Regions from separate parts of the Homo sapiens genome. Here regions 2, 3, 4 and 5 are each linked to region 1. The links are contacts of gene promoters, found by promoter capture Hi-C in blood cells and fetal thymus (Javierre and others, 2016). All regions are on one chromosome and are shown on one strand. Each heading gives the region's core, a stretch centred on a gene start or on the middle of the fragment in contact. The rest is flanking DNA. Distances are from core to core; before and after follow the strand shown. Region 1 holds the start of MMP20 (matrix metallopeptidase 20). Region 2 has its middle 34 kb from the start of BIRC2. Region 3 overlaps TMEM123 (transmembrane protein 123). Region 4 overlaps TMEM123-DT (TMEM123 divergent transcript). Region 5 overlaps LOC124902740 (a long non-coding RNA gene).

Region 1 (2,771 bases), core at 102-2,601:
TAAAGTCAAAAGAAGTTCAGTTCAACATGGTTGTGCTGGGCATCAGCTGTGCTGTTCATCTGCGGGGCTGATATTTAAGTGTTTAATGACTGGTATGGCCGGGGAACTGACCAGTTAATAAGGATGAGTGGCAGAAACAATCGGTAGGGACATGCCATTGCACATGGGTGCAAATCAGCTCTACGATGCAGACAGCCAAGCGGTACACAGGTGCAGCCTGGCAGTCAGGAAAGCAGCCCTGAGGCGGAGCTGGTGATCACAGATGTGCTGTAATGTTGGCAGACTCTTGAAAGGGAGGCCTGTGTGCAAAAGCATTTCCTCTATATATCTTTCACTAATGTTGGAAATTCCATCCGTAGACATCCATTTCTTTAGGTTAAGGATGCCACCCTTCTTTTAAAAACAAAACACGCTTGGAAGCATATATATATATATATATATATATATATATATATATATATATATATGTAGAAATCATTTTGAGTCAAGCAGTCTTTGTGAAATATTTGAATATGGATCATTTCTATCAGACCCTTTCCAGCAGTCATAGAGGAGAGATCTCAAAAGAGGAAAATACACAAAGTTTAAGTACATAAACGTTGTACTTTGTACTTACTACATAAACTTTGTTATGTACTTTGTACATAAACTTTTACTTCATTGGGGAATATGCTTTAGGGAGAAAAGGCCTTCAAATGAGAAGTGGGTTGGCACCCAGGAAGAACTTAGTCCACTTTAAATTTTGATCAGGGTTACCTTGAATATAAGAGCCATTTAAAAAGTGGAAACACAGGAAATCTCCTTGTTGTGACCGCTAAAGCTTAGCACTAAATTCACAACCTGCCTCTAGCGTGTGGATTATGCCTCGGTTTTTATTTTTCTGCTTCTATTTTTCCTCCTACATCATTCCCGGGAAGTACTTGTTTGCTCCTTTTATATTGCATGGTTTTCACAAGCCACCTGGAATTCTTTATGAAGCAAGATAGCTAGGTAGATATATCCTCATGTATTTATTCAGTCATGTAACATGGTACACCTAATATGCACCAGACACCAATCTAGGTGGACAGAAGATAGCATCAGTTAGACTTCAATGGACTTATATAAAATGATTTTAAAAGAACAATAGAATTTTTTTCTTATTTTCTCACTATGCCCTTTTAGGTTTTCTAGGGCAGAGGAGCAAGAAGGAATTGGGCAAAAATTCACAAACCTGTGCGAGGCGGTAGTTGTTCCTCCAGGTCCTGGGGGAGGCTGCAACTAGGGAGGGGGCTGCAGTGGAAAACTTCAAAGCCATGATGAGGAAGACAGCAAGGCCAGATGCAGGGAGCACCTTCATCCCCTCACAGTAGCTTGGTAATTATATCAGCCTGGGGGATGGCAGACAGTGCACGTTTGCACTTCGACCTTGAGCTCCTTTTATAGAGTCAAACAGGTCTGGACCCTCCGAGCAAGGATGATTCATGTCTCAAACAGTAATTATACAGCTCATTTCTCTCCCTGATGATGGGGTAACACAACTGTACACAGGAATCAGGGAAAGCTTCATATTTTTTTTGTTATTTACCAAGTGGCAAAAGGAGAAAAACAGTCACTTTTAATGAAGTTGGTCAGCTAGTTACAAAAATTGAAGTAAACTTGATTGATTTGAACCCAACTCAACTGAAACATTTGATTAGTCTTCATTTGGGGGCCTTTTTCCATTCTGATTACAGAAAAGTTAGATGATTACAGTATAATTGAATTTGTCCTCCAAGTAATCCCAAACTCCCCATGCATTCAACCCAATCGCCTGTATCTCCTGCATTCACTTCAAAATTTCTTAGTAGCAACTGCTGTTCATAATGATGGCTCTGAGACACATAAGATCCTGAATCATCAAGGCAAGATTACATTATACTGTGCTGACTTAGGGTGGAAAGTGAACTGGTAACTGTTAGAAAGCTTTTGGATGAATTAAGGCAAGAGTTACGTCTTCGTTAACCAAAACAATAGCCAGAACTCCCCAATCTCTGTGTACTCTGGTTAATTGGAGTCATATTGTTTTTCCTGGGTCTGATTAAGATGGATTTGGATCCAGAGATGATACGGTGAAATGGTGTCATATGGTGGGAAAAGCACTTAGAGTCAGACAAAGCAAGACTAAATATTTAAAAAGATATTTCCTAGCTGTGTGATGTTGGGTATGTCATTTAATCTCTGAATATCAAGTTTTTTTTAATCTACAAAAGACTGACAATACTACTACTATGTATAAACTTTTCAGTGTTATGGAGTAACACATATAGCATGACATCTGCAAGCACCACTTGGCATCCACTAGATGTGGATTCAAATCCTAATTTTGATTTTAGACTAAATTCAAGGTTATTCCTATAGTGAATACAGTGAATTCCTATAGTCTTTCTCACTCTGTTGCATTTTGATATGCTTTCTTTGCATGGAAGAGAAGATGGTGGAGTTACAGCCAATGTTTGGTATCTAGTGTACAACCCCAGGCACTGAACAAGAGTTTGTCACACATTAATATGGTTTGGCTCTGTGTCCCTAACCAAATCTCATCTCGAATTGTAATCCCCATGTGTTGAGGGAGGGAGGGGATTGGATCATGGGGGTGGTTCCGTCATGCTGTTCTCATGACAATGAGTGAGTTCTCACAAGATATGATGGTTTTATAGGTGTTTGAAAGTTCCTCCATTGATCTTCTCTCTCCTGCTGCCTTGTCAAGAAGGTGCCTGCTTCCCCTTTGCCTTGCACCATGATTCTAAGTT
Region 2 (2,771 bases), core at 112-2,611, 240 kb before region 1:
AAAGACGTCTGTGTTTTTCACATTCAGTAAAAATAATGCAAAAAATATAACTAAACATAGTGTAATTTATACTTTATCTGCTTGCAAACTTCTCAAATGGACCTGGATTTGAGATTAGGGTTTTAGTCTCTTATCTTTTTTGCCCTCTTAATGATGATAATCAGTGTCCTAGCAGGTGCTCATTATGTTGAGCAGACAGATGAATGTCAGATGCTTTGTTAGGTTTTTTATTGCCTTCCATAATCCTTAAAACTGTAGGAAACATGTTATCTCTTTTTTATAATACAAATGTGGAAATTGAGGCCCAGTGAAACCATGTAATTTGCTAGAGATAACAAGTGGTAGAGTGTGAATTGTATACAGTCCAGGTGGAAGTGGCTCCAGAACATTTACATTTTTTTTTTTAAATCTCTTGCTAAACCATACTTCAGTTTTTGTTTGTTTGTTTTTGAGATGGAGTCTCATTCTTGTTGCCCAGGCTGGAGTGCAATGATACAATCTCACCTCACTGCAACCTCCGCCTCCTGGGTACAAGTGATTCTCCTGCCTCAGCCTCCTGAGTAGCTGGGATTACAGGCACCCGTCACCACGCCTGGCTAATATTTTTAGTAGAGACGGGGTTTCACCATGTTGGCCAGACTGGTCTCAAACCCCTGACCTCAGGTGATCCACCCACCTCTGCCTCCCAAAGTGCTGGGATTACAGGTGTGAGCCACCACATCCAGCCCATACTTTAGTTTACTACATTCTTAACTTGTGTTTGGATCTCTTTCTTCCCTGTCTTAACCTAAATGGGAGGAATTGTATGATTATTAGTTAGGCTTCTCCTTTGTTTCCCACATCTTTTCTTAAAAGAGCTCAAGTACCAGAGCTGAATAGTTTGCTCTTCTCAACACTAGCAACCTAAGAGACTCATTGCTTGTTGACTGCCATTCCATAAGTCAAAGGACAACGAATGGTCAGCTTTAAAGACACACCTAAATTTTTTCTAGAGGTGTAACATTTCAATGAGTATCCCCTACTATATGTAAAAGAAACCTATCAGTAGATAGTAGCAGTTCTTTCAACCCTTTTAGGTGCTCTGAAAAAATTAAAAGTAGAACTGAGATGCTGGCGGGACACAGTGGCTCACGCCTGTAATCCCAACACTTCGAGAGGTCGAGGCAGGCTGATCACTTGAGGTCAGGAGTTCAAGACCAGCCTGGCCAATGTGGTGAAACCCCATCTCTACTAAAAATACAAAAATTAGCTGGGCGTGGTGGCGGGCGCCTGTAATCCCAGCTACTCCGGAGGCTGAAGCAGGAGAATTGTTTGAACGTGGGAGGCAACAACAAAACAGAAGTAAGATGCTATTTGCTATTTTCACTGTGCTGACATTTGCAGTGATTGGTGCAGACACAATGGTGGTCAGTGGACCAGCATTTAAGAACCACTGGTGTGTGGTAAAACCATTAGACTGATTAAAAAAACAAAAAATGAATCTAAGAAGCATTGTATTAAGGGAGAATACTTAGTCTTATCTGTTAGGTTTTCTTCAACATAGAAGGAACTCTTTTTTCCCTTGCGCTTATCGTCTTGGTGCTTTTGGGAGAGAAGCATGGATATGCCCAGTAGCTCAATCCCTTCTTTCTTCTTTCTCTTTGGGAGGCAGCTTGTCTGAAGAGAGCATACTCTGTCCTTCTGTGATGTTGGCGTCACAGGGGCCAGTGACTGGTAAAGTTTGTTTCCTTCTAGCATTCATATTAGGAAATCTACACGAAAGCATCATCCTTCAGATCTTTTATCAATGATAAACATGATGTTTTCATTGTCACGTGATGACTCCTTTTATTGGTTCTAAACTTGCCTAAAAGGGATGTTATTTATTGAGCCCCACAAGTCCATAATAGATTCTTTTGCCTACTTGGTCCATTGGGATATGCGTGATTATTCAGGGGAAGAAGATTTAGATAGCTTAGTAGAAATGGAAAGACTATGGTAATAATTGATTATTGTGTTAGGTCCTGTTATCTTTCTGGTATGGTGTCCAGATAGGCTTTAACCATCGAGTCCTTGGAGCTTTTAAGCCTTAGCAGCTCTGATAATGAAAGGTAATAGGTAAAGAGCCCTGAATTTCAAATCCAAAGACTTTGCCTCTAAGTCTAATTCTGCCGTTTAATGAGGTCTTCGGCAAGCCCTTTACAACTGTTTCTGGTCCTCAGCTTTTCTGTGAGGGTGAATTTCTGTCCTGCTTATTCCTCACAGGGCTGTAGTAGGGTCTAATGTAGAGCTGCACATGACTTCTGTGTTCTTCATTAGTGGGCTCTGCTAAAGACGGTGTCATAGGTCTGATTCCCAAGTAGCAAGCATCCTGTTTCATATCAGACCTGGATAGACTGAGTCATAGCATTGTGTTCCAATCAGTTTTTTTTTTTTTGTTTTGTTTTGTTTTAAGGCAGGTAAATACTTTAGAATAGATATTTGTTGTAAAAGTTTCAAACAATCAGTATATAAGGTAAAATGTTTGAATCCCCTTTAATTTCTCCCCACTAGTACTTTCAGTCCCCTCCCTGGTAGTAATCACTGTTAAATTTGGTATGTATTCACTGTGTGGGGGTGTGTATATACACACATGCCTACATACATATGGTTATAGAAATGTTCTTAAGGTTGCTTTTTCACTCAGTAGTAGGTCTTGAATATCTTTATTTTTCCATGACAGCAAGCAAATACCGAATTATTTTTCTGTAAATATAGAAGTCATAATTTCAGCTTCAAAGCTACATGGACAC
Region 3 (2,771 bases), core at 146-2,645, 220 kb before region 1:
TTCTTTTTAACACGACAATTTAACTAACGTTTACAACTATAGGTACCTATTAGGATACAATGTCTAGGGAATGAAAGCTTTTAATATGTCTTTGTCCATTTAATATGATGTAATATATTTCTGTATTCATTTCCTGTCTCATAGTTTATTTTCAGGTTTTTTGGTTTCCTATGTTGCCTACTGCTATGGTTTGGATTTGGTTTGTTTGTCCCTATCAAAACTCATATTGAAATTTGATCTCCAATGTGGCGGTCTTGGGAGGTGGGGCCTAGTGGGAGTTGTCTGGATCATGGGGGCAGATCCCTCATAAATGGCTTGATGCCCTTCACGTGGTAGTGAGTGAGTTCTCATTCTGGCAAAACTGGATCAGTTCCTGTGGAAATGAGTTCCCATGAAAGGGGGTTGTTATAAAGCCAGGATGCTCCTCGGGTTTTCTATCTTTGCAGTTACCCACTTCCCCTTTGACCTTCTCGGCCATGTTGTGGCACAGCTTTATAAAAGCCCTCCCCAGAAACCAGGGCTTGCAGAACTTTCCCAGCCTGCAGAACCTTGAGCTAAATAAACATTTTCTTTATCAATTACCTAGTCTCAGGTATTCCTTTATAGCAACACAAAATGTACTAAGACACCTTTATACTCCCATTTTATTATATATGTCCACATACTTAAGGTACACAGAATTAACCACTGGACCTGCTTTCTCCTTTCCCCCAGTGAGAGCAGTACCAATGCCTTAGGTTCCTTGCCCCGCCACTGTTGTCAAGTACCAAAAGTGATACTTCATATATTATCCTATCTTCCACAACTATTTTGGCCTTATTCTTGAAAGACAGACAGATTGATATTTATTTATTTATTTAACTTAGAGACAAAGTCTTACTCTGTCACCCAGGCTGGAGTGCAGTGGCATGATCTCGGCTCAGGGCAACCTCCGCCTTCTGGGTTCAAGCGATTCTCGTGCCTCAGCCTACTCAGTAGCTGGGATTACAGGCACATGCCACGACGCCTGGCTAATTTTTGTATTTTTAGTAGAGACAGCGCTTCACCATGTTGGCCAGGCTCGTTTCAAACTCCTGACATCAGGTGATCCGCCCACCTCAGCCTCTCAAAGTGCTAGTACTACAGGTGTGAGCCCCTGCACCTGGCCCCTATATGTATTTATTATTGTTATTACTATTTTTGAAACAGTCTTGCTCTGTCCCCCAGGCTGGAGGGCCGGTGCCTGCGATCTCGGCTCACTGTAACCTCTGCCTCCCAGGTTCAAGCAATTCTCCTGCCTCAGCCTCCTTAGTAGCTGGGATTACAGGCATGCACCACCAAGCCCACCTAATTTTTGTACTTTTAGTAGAGACGGGGTTTTGCCATGTTGGCCTGGCTGGTCTTGAACTCCTGACCTCAGGTGATCTGCCTGCCTTGGCCTCCCAAAGTGCTGGGATTACAGGCTAAGCCACCATGCTCGGCCCCAGCTATATTTATTTTTGACTTAACTGTCAAAACAAGTTGGTTTTAATAGTGCTGCTTACTTGCATATCGGGTTTTACTACTGGAATTTCTACTACTTTCTTCAACTTTGGGTCTCTGTGATCTCTTCTACTGAGTATGACCTATTTTCTTTTTTCTTTTTTTTTTTGAGACAGAGTCTTGCTCTGTTGCCCAGGCTGGAGTGCAGTGGCGTGATCTCAGCTCATTGCAAGCTCCGCCTCCCAGGTTCACGCCATTCTCCTGCCTCAGCCTCCTGAGTAGCTGGGACTACAGGCGCCCACCACCACGCCTGGCTAATTTTTGTATTTTTATTAGAGACGGGGTTTCACCTTGTTAGCCAGGATGGTCTCGATCTGATCTCCTGACCTTGTGATCTGCCCGCCTCAGCCTCCCAAAGTGCTGGGATTACAGGTGTGAGCCACCGTGCCCGGCCTGATCTATTTTCTTAATAAGGCCAAAGGAATTAACGCTTTTATACTACATAGGCAAATAAATAATAAATATCCAAGTAGGTAATACAAATGCACTAAGTTCAAATGAACTTGAACTAATCTTTTCTTATTCAAGTCTGAATGTTCTATAGAGATATAAGTAATAGAATTTAACATTAAAATAATCACCTTTTATTTAAAAATGCTGAATGGATTCTATTGCAATGAAATTAAATACAGCAAAGAACCAACGTTTATATCCTATCTTTAGAATAGAATGATCCCGCAGAATAAAACAATGAACACAATGCTGCTTTCGGATTCAACACACACACACACCCCTCCCCCTGCCCTCTGGTATAATAAAACATTCTTCAAAGATACTGTACAAAGTCACATGGGCCAAAATAGGAAGCTATAATAGGTTAGTTCTCCGCTAAGTCAATCCAAATGTGCTAAAGAAACAAAAAATTTTGTCAATTTCTATGTCAATTTCTTTGTCGATTTCTATGAATTGACAAAACAGGCAAAAGGAAATTTTGCATTAAACTGTGTTTCCTGATGCTTTTAAGCATAAATGAAATGCAAGGATGCTCTCCAAATTCACATTGGATGACCCAATCTTCTTCTGTAATAAGTAAATAGTCACTTGTTTTCCTCTGCAAATGATACCATCCCAACTCTGGTCTTCTTCCCTCTCCCTTAACTGTTGAAATGCTGACTGGCACCTCTAGGAGTGGCACAGTTAACACCTGCAAAGAGATGCAGAATGGACCATCCCTGTGGGACTTGCAAGGGGTGAAGCTTTATCTAAGTCTGCCCATCTTAGCCACTCAGTCTCCTCCAGCCTCCGATAAG
Region 4 (2,771 bases), core at 73-2,572, 160 kb before region 1:
AAGGGGGAAGTACATTTCAACCAGCATAGTGTGTTGGGGGAATAAAAAGAAAGCCAATGTGCCTGAAGCTCAGTGAATAAGAACAGAGAGGTACAAGGGAAGATCTGGGCCTTTTCAGATGAGGAATTTAGATTTTATTTTAAATATGATGTATGGAAAGAACAAGAACAACAAAACAAAATGTGATGAGAAGCCATTTGAGAGTTGGCAAGTCATCTTGTGCTTTATATATTTTTAAAAACATCACACCAGCTTCTGTGGAGGAACAAGAGTAGAAACAGACCAGTTATGAGGCTATTGTTGGGGGCTTGAACTAGGGTAGAAGTGGTGACAATGGAAGAAGTGAATGGATTTAGGATGTGGATTGAGAGTAGAGTCAATTGGATATGATGGCTGAGGGAAAGAGAAATTAAGCCTCTTAGGTTTGTGGCTTGAGCAACTGGGTGAGTGGTAGCTTCACATCCCATATCCTGGAATACTAACCCACACTTTTTGAATTCTGTCCTACTGTCCTTCTGTCATTTCTGAATCTCTTATAGCAACCTTCATCAGGAACGCATACAGAGTTAGCCAAATTGAATACAATATTTCAGTGATCATCTGTTGGTATCTACATGGGTCAAGAGGGAAGTAAGCGCTATTGGATGATCCCTAAGTTTGCTCTCACCCAGGAATACTGCATTTTGAGTATTACTTGTGTTAGCAGTGGTGAATCCGTATGGGTCTGCGGCAGCCTCAACTCTTGCCTCCTCAGAAGAAAGAATTTGACCGAGGGGCATAAGACAGAGTGAGAGAATGAGGCAAATTTTGGAGCAGGAGTGAAAGTTTATTCAAAAGCTTTAGAGCAGGAATGAGAGAAAATAAAGTACACTTGGAAGACGGCCAAGTGGGCAACTTGAGAGATCAAGTGTACTGTTTGACCATTGATTTGGAGTTTTATATGTTGGCATTCTTTTGGGGTCTGCATTACTTCTCCCTTTTTTCTTCCCTTGTGGGGGTTGTCTGCCTGTGCGGTGGCCTACTGGCTTTTGAGGGGGGCCGCATGTGCACTGTGTTTACTGGAGTTGTATGCACGCTCACTTGTGGCATTTTTCCCTTACCAGTCTAGTGGTCATATACCAGGTATACTTTGCCTTTTGCCTCCTTTTTTTTTTTTTTTTTTTTTTAATGCGGAGTCTCGCTCTGTCACCCAGGCTGGAGTGCAGTGGCGCAATCTTTGCTCACTGCAACCTCCGCCTCCCAGGTTCAAGCAATTCTCCTGCCTCAGCCTCCTGAGTAGCTGGGACTGCAGGCCCGCCACCATGCCCAGCTAATTTTTATATTTTTAGTAGAGACTGGTTTTCACCATGTTGACCAGGATGGTCTTGATCTCTTGACCTCATGATCTGCCCACCTCGGCCTCCCAAAGTGCTGGGATTACAGGTGTGAGCCACCACGCCTGGCCTGAAACCTCTTATTTCTATGAGAGACAAAAGGATGTACTGTGTGATGTCTCATTACACCCATCGTTGTACCGATGAGAAACCTCAGCAAAATCCCAGAGGTAAGTGTTGACAGTTTCAAAGGTCAGAAGGCCCATGACCTTGCATGTAAAATCAAAAGGTCAGAACTATTATGTTGTCAGGGTGACACCCTAAAGAGGGGAGGATGGGTAGGCAGTGTTCTCCCTCCTCAAAGAAAATTTTGTCATTTTACCCTTATAATTGCCACATATTTTTTCCAGATACCTTTCATGTAGCCCACCCCCAATAAGTAAATATATTAGAATTTCACTGTGTAATGAGAATAAAAGAAAGGACTTTAGATGATAAGCTTTTGTGATCTTCTCCTCTCTCCTCCCTTCAGCCCTGACTCCAGTGTCTCCAGCTGAGAGGCTGAGCTTGCCAGCTCCATTTCTGACTGCTCATGGAGCAGAATCAGTGACCAAGGAGAAAAGGGCTGAGTGAAGAAACAAGTGTGAGTGCCAAGATGATGCCAAGGGCTGTGATTTCCTGGTGGGAAGAAAGAAGGAATAGAAGCCAAAGGAAGGGGGATGAAAAGCAAAACCAAGAATCACAAGGAATCAAGTTCGGAGAGAATTTTGGCAGAGATTTTGAGAGGGGGGCTTTAAGTCAGCCATGGACATACTGAAGCAAGAGGAATGAAGGGAAAAAAGAAAAGGGGGGAAAAAAAGAAGAAGAATGGGGCCAAGGAGGATTTAAGACTACCATTATAGGTTACAAGTTGAATTCTTTTTAATATTCTTCAAGCAATGACAGTAAAGATTCAAATAACTTTTAAATTACCTTTGATTTCTAAACCAAGTTTCTTGGAATGTGAAAGTCGCCAAGACTGGGCCCTGCAGGGCCTGGGTTGGGCTACTACTGCCTATGGAGATTCTGAGGGTATTAACCTTAATAATGGCATGAAATCAATAAAAATCATCCAAAAGCTTTTTTCTGAGCATCTATTGTATGTGCAGCATTGTATAAGGCATGGAAGAAAAAGCAAAATAGTATAATGTGTGGCCATGTCCCTGCAGGTGTTATATTTAAGTAAATGACCCATTTCCACGTGGGCAAGTAAGTAATAGCACTCCACCAAAACTGTCACCAGACTGTGAGGGCTGTAAGTTGGTAGGAAGAAGTACTAACTAAATGTAGAACTTAATATCTATTTTTCCTTATTTGATTTTTAAACTTCACCCCAAAACGTAATAATTGCCGTAAGCTTTAAGATTTTATAATTCCAATAATATATACCAAACAAAAATACCATTCCTAGAAAAAAAA
Region 5 (2,771 bases), core at 93-2,592, 140 kb before region 1:
ATAAGGAACATTTGATTCAGACAGGAATAAAATCTATTGATTTGTACAAGATCTAAGAGCCCATAAACTCCTTTGTGATTTTTCACCACCCCTTAGTCCCTAATCCAGCTGACATTTCTACTTCAATTTCTGCTGATACAGCCTGATTTACAATGATTGACATCTGCTCAATTTTCTGTTCAATTCCATTGCGCCCTGACTCAAAATTTCTCTTTACATTCACATTTAGAGGGAGAAAATGAACATGAACTCATATAGGTCAGGGATACCATGAGTCCTTTTCAGTGTTTTCCCGAGTCCTTAAAGTCAGCTTAGACTCTGTGTCCTTTACCCAAGGCTCTACTCTTGTTCATTATTCCGATATGATCTTTTAGTTTGTTACTGAACTAAGCAACCCACTCTTCCAGACTCCCTCATTTTCCTAAAGGCACTAGCTCAACAGAGGCCATAAAGCCTTCCAACCTAAACTTCAGTGGGTGCAAATAACTGTTACTTATGTAGGATTGAATTGCTAGGTTGTCATATCTCAGAGCACTCAAAAGCTCGCCCCAAAATGCCTAGAGTCAGTTTTGTGCATTCCCCTCCCAAAAAAACATCTATGTAAATTTCTAGGAGCAGCTAGTTATTGCCACCAATATATTCCTAATTTTGTTGCCTTTGCTAAGCTCCTTTATACCCTCCTCCCAGATATTAATTCTGAGCCCATTTTCTTGGCCTGCAGATCCATAAATCTCCTCCGGAGCCTTAAAATTAACATCCACATCCCCTGCTCTCAGCTAACCTGATTTTGACAGACCTTTTCGCCCATCTCACCATGACACAATGGGATTGCTGCAGATATTTGGAACAATTTTTTTGCCTCTCTGATACACCCTGTAGCATATTTCTCATGTCAATTGGACCCCCATGCCGATGTGCAGTAGCCACAGCTACCACCCTAATAATTGACAAAGCCAGCATATTCTGATATTACACTCCTTCATTCATCCATATGTTCCCCATGCTGCCTGTTCTCTTACAAGTTCATAAGATACAGCACCTTTCTCCAGATGGCAGGCCACCTATGCACAGGCCCTGTTTACCAGCTCCTCCATCATGTTGCATTGTTGTAACACTTTAAATCCAGCTGCTCTACTGCCCCTGCCTGATGATGGAGAGCCTCACTCCATTCAATATGTTTGCCTTGCAGCTATAGAAAAGGTCTCAAAGCCACAAGAAGACCTCCTAGATACTCCTTTAGACAATCCAGACTTATTTCTATTTTGTAATGGCTTCTGTGGATGACATTTCCAGGAAACATAACTGTGAAGCCATAGTTTTCCCTTGTGAAACACTTCAGGCATCCTCTTTGTCCACTGTAAAGTCAGCCCAAGCTGCCGAATGTATAGATCTTGCTAGAGCTGGTGTAATGGCAAAAGGAAAAATTGCCACTATTTACCCTGACTCCAGATATGCTTTGGGTGTCTGCCACACTATTGGCAATCTGGAAGTCCAGCAGATTCTTAACTTCTGCTGATAATCCTATTTCCAATTAGCATATAATTGCTGCTCTATTACAGGCTGTTCACCTCCCTATTCAAATTGCTATTGCTCATTGTTCAGCTCACCCTAAGGAGACTGATAGTATATCTCTAGGGAACGAGAGGGTGGAGAAGGCCACTAAGAATGCAGCCCCAAAGAACCCTCCTATTCTTTTCCACCCTTTATTAACCTGCCTTTATTGCTTACTGGTGTTATTGATTACCAGAGAATGGGCACAGTGCGACAAACAAACAAACAAACAAACAAAAAACCCACAAATGAATACAAAAGAATGTCAGATAATTATCAGGTGTATTATACATGGGGCCAATGGAGTTCCTGTGGCCCCCCTTTTTTTAACTTCTTGGCTTGAAGCACTTATCTCCCTTCAGATGGGACATATGTACAGACAGAGGATAGTTAAGGAATGAAAAGATAATTGGTTTTGCCTTGGTATTTACAAAATTTCTAACTGAATTATTCTCAGTGCACTTCTAATAAATCCCATCAGATTTTTGGAGGAGACCAACGTGCCTCAGCAAGTCCTCTAAGACATTAGGCTTTAGGCTCTTCTTACTGTTTGATTGTTGTCTGTATGTTTAGTGGATGGATTGAACGCTATCTGACTAGATGTGCTGACACCATGACAGTGGTAAAGAAATTAATAACAGGTCAGGCGTGGTGGCTCACGCCTGTAATCCCAGCACTTTGGGAGGCTGAGGCAGGTGGATGATTTGGGGTCAGGAGTTTGATACCAGCCTGGCCAACATTGTAGAACCCCATCTGTACAAAAAATACAAAAATTACCCTGGTCTGGTGGCGCATGCCTTTAATCCCAACACTATGGGAGGCTGAGGCAGGTGGATCATCTGGGTCAGGAGTTCGATACCAGCCTGGCCAACATGGCAGAACCCCATCTTCACAAAAAATACAAAAATTTGCCTGGTGTGGTGGTGCATGCCTGTAGTCCTAGCTTCTTGGGAGGGTGAGGCAGGAAACTTGAGCCTGGGAGATGGAGGTTGCAGTGAGCTGAGATCGTGCCATTGCATTCCAGCCTGGGAGACAGAGCAAGACTCTGTCTCAAAAATAAATTAATCAATTAATAAATAATAAATAACAGATCATTCTTCATTTGGATGTTCTATTATAGATTCAATCAGACCACTGGAACTTATTTTACAGCAGAAATAAAACAGTTGTTTGCAAAAGTTCTAGGATATTCATTGAAATTTAATACCCTATATCATTCC

Evidence for each region. The method cuts DNA at HindIII sites, captures the fragments that hold promoters and counts their contacts. A CHiCAGO score of 5 or more calls a contact.
Region 2: a contact is called between a fragment that was not itself captured here and the fragment with the promoter of MMP20 in region 1, in 6 of 17 cell types (M1 macrophages, M0 macrophages, naive B cells and 3 more). The highest score is 16.1, in M1 macrophages.
Region 3: a contact is called between a fragment that was not itself captured here and the fragment with the promoter of MMP20 in region 1, in 5 of 17 cell types (M1 macrophages, M0 macrophages, M2 macrophages and 2 more). The highest score is 13.2, in M1 macrophages.
Region 4: a fragment that was not itself captured here is called in contact with the fragment with the promoter of MMP20 in region 1 in 2 of 17 cell types (M1 macrophages and M0 macrophages); the score reaches 8.1 in M1 macrophages.
Region 5: a contact is called between a fragment that was not itself captured here and the fragment with the promoter of MMP20 in region 1, in 1 of 17 cell types (M1 macrophages). The highest score is 8.8, in M1 macrophages.

The regions. Positions count from the first base shown.
Region 1 is chr11:102,623,981-102,626,751 of GRCh38, forward strand. It overlaps MMP20 (matrix metallopeptidase 20), which reads right to left and starts at 1,352. Exons shown (of 10, transcript NM_004771.4): 1 at 1,214-1,352. The coding sequence starts at 1,339. The HindIII fragment of the contact is 723 bases long and covers 819-1,541 here.
Region 2 is chr11:102,380,238-102,383,008 of GRCh38, forward strand. No RefSeq gene overlaps it. Among named protein-coding and RNA genes, the nearest start is that of BIRC2, 34 kb to the left of the region's middle. The HindIII fragment of the contact is 6,214 bases long and covers 1-2,771 here.
Region 3 is chr11:102,403,437-102,406,207 of GRCh38, forward strand. All of the region lies in intron 2 of TMEM123 (transmembrane protein 123), which reads right to left. Among named protein-coding and RNA genes, the nearest start is that of TMEM123, 48 kb to the right of the region's middle. The HindIII fragment of the contact is 2,640 bases long and covers 76-2,715 here.
Region 4 is chr11:102,459,603-102,462,373 of GRCh38, forward strand. It overlaps TMEM123-DT (TMEM123 divergent transcript), which reads left to right. Exons shown (of 2, transcript NR_135053.1): 2 at 1,846-2,436. Among named protein-coding and RNA genes, the nearest start is that of TMEM123-DT, 8.1 kb to the left of the region's middle. The HindIII fragment of the contact is 975 bases long and covers 836-1,810 here.
Region 5 is chr11:102,479,797-102,482,567 of GRCh38, forward strand. All of the region lies in intron 1 of LOC124902740 (a long non-coding RNA gene), which reads left to right. The region is part of intron 1 of LOC102723838 (a long non-coding RNA gene); the gene reads left to right. Among named protein-coding and RNA genes, the nearest start is that of TMEM123-DT, 28 kb to the left of the region's middle. The HindIII fragment of the contact is 6,416 bases long and covers 1-2,771 here.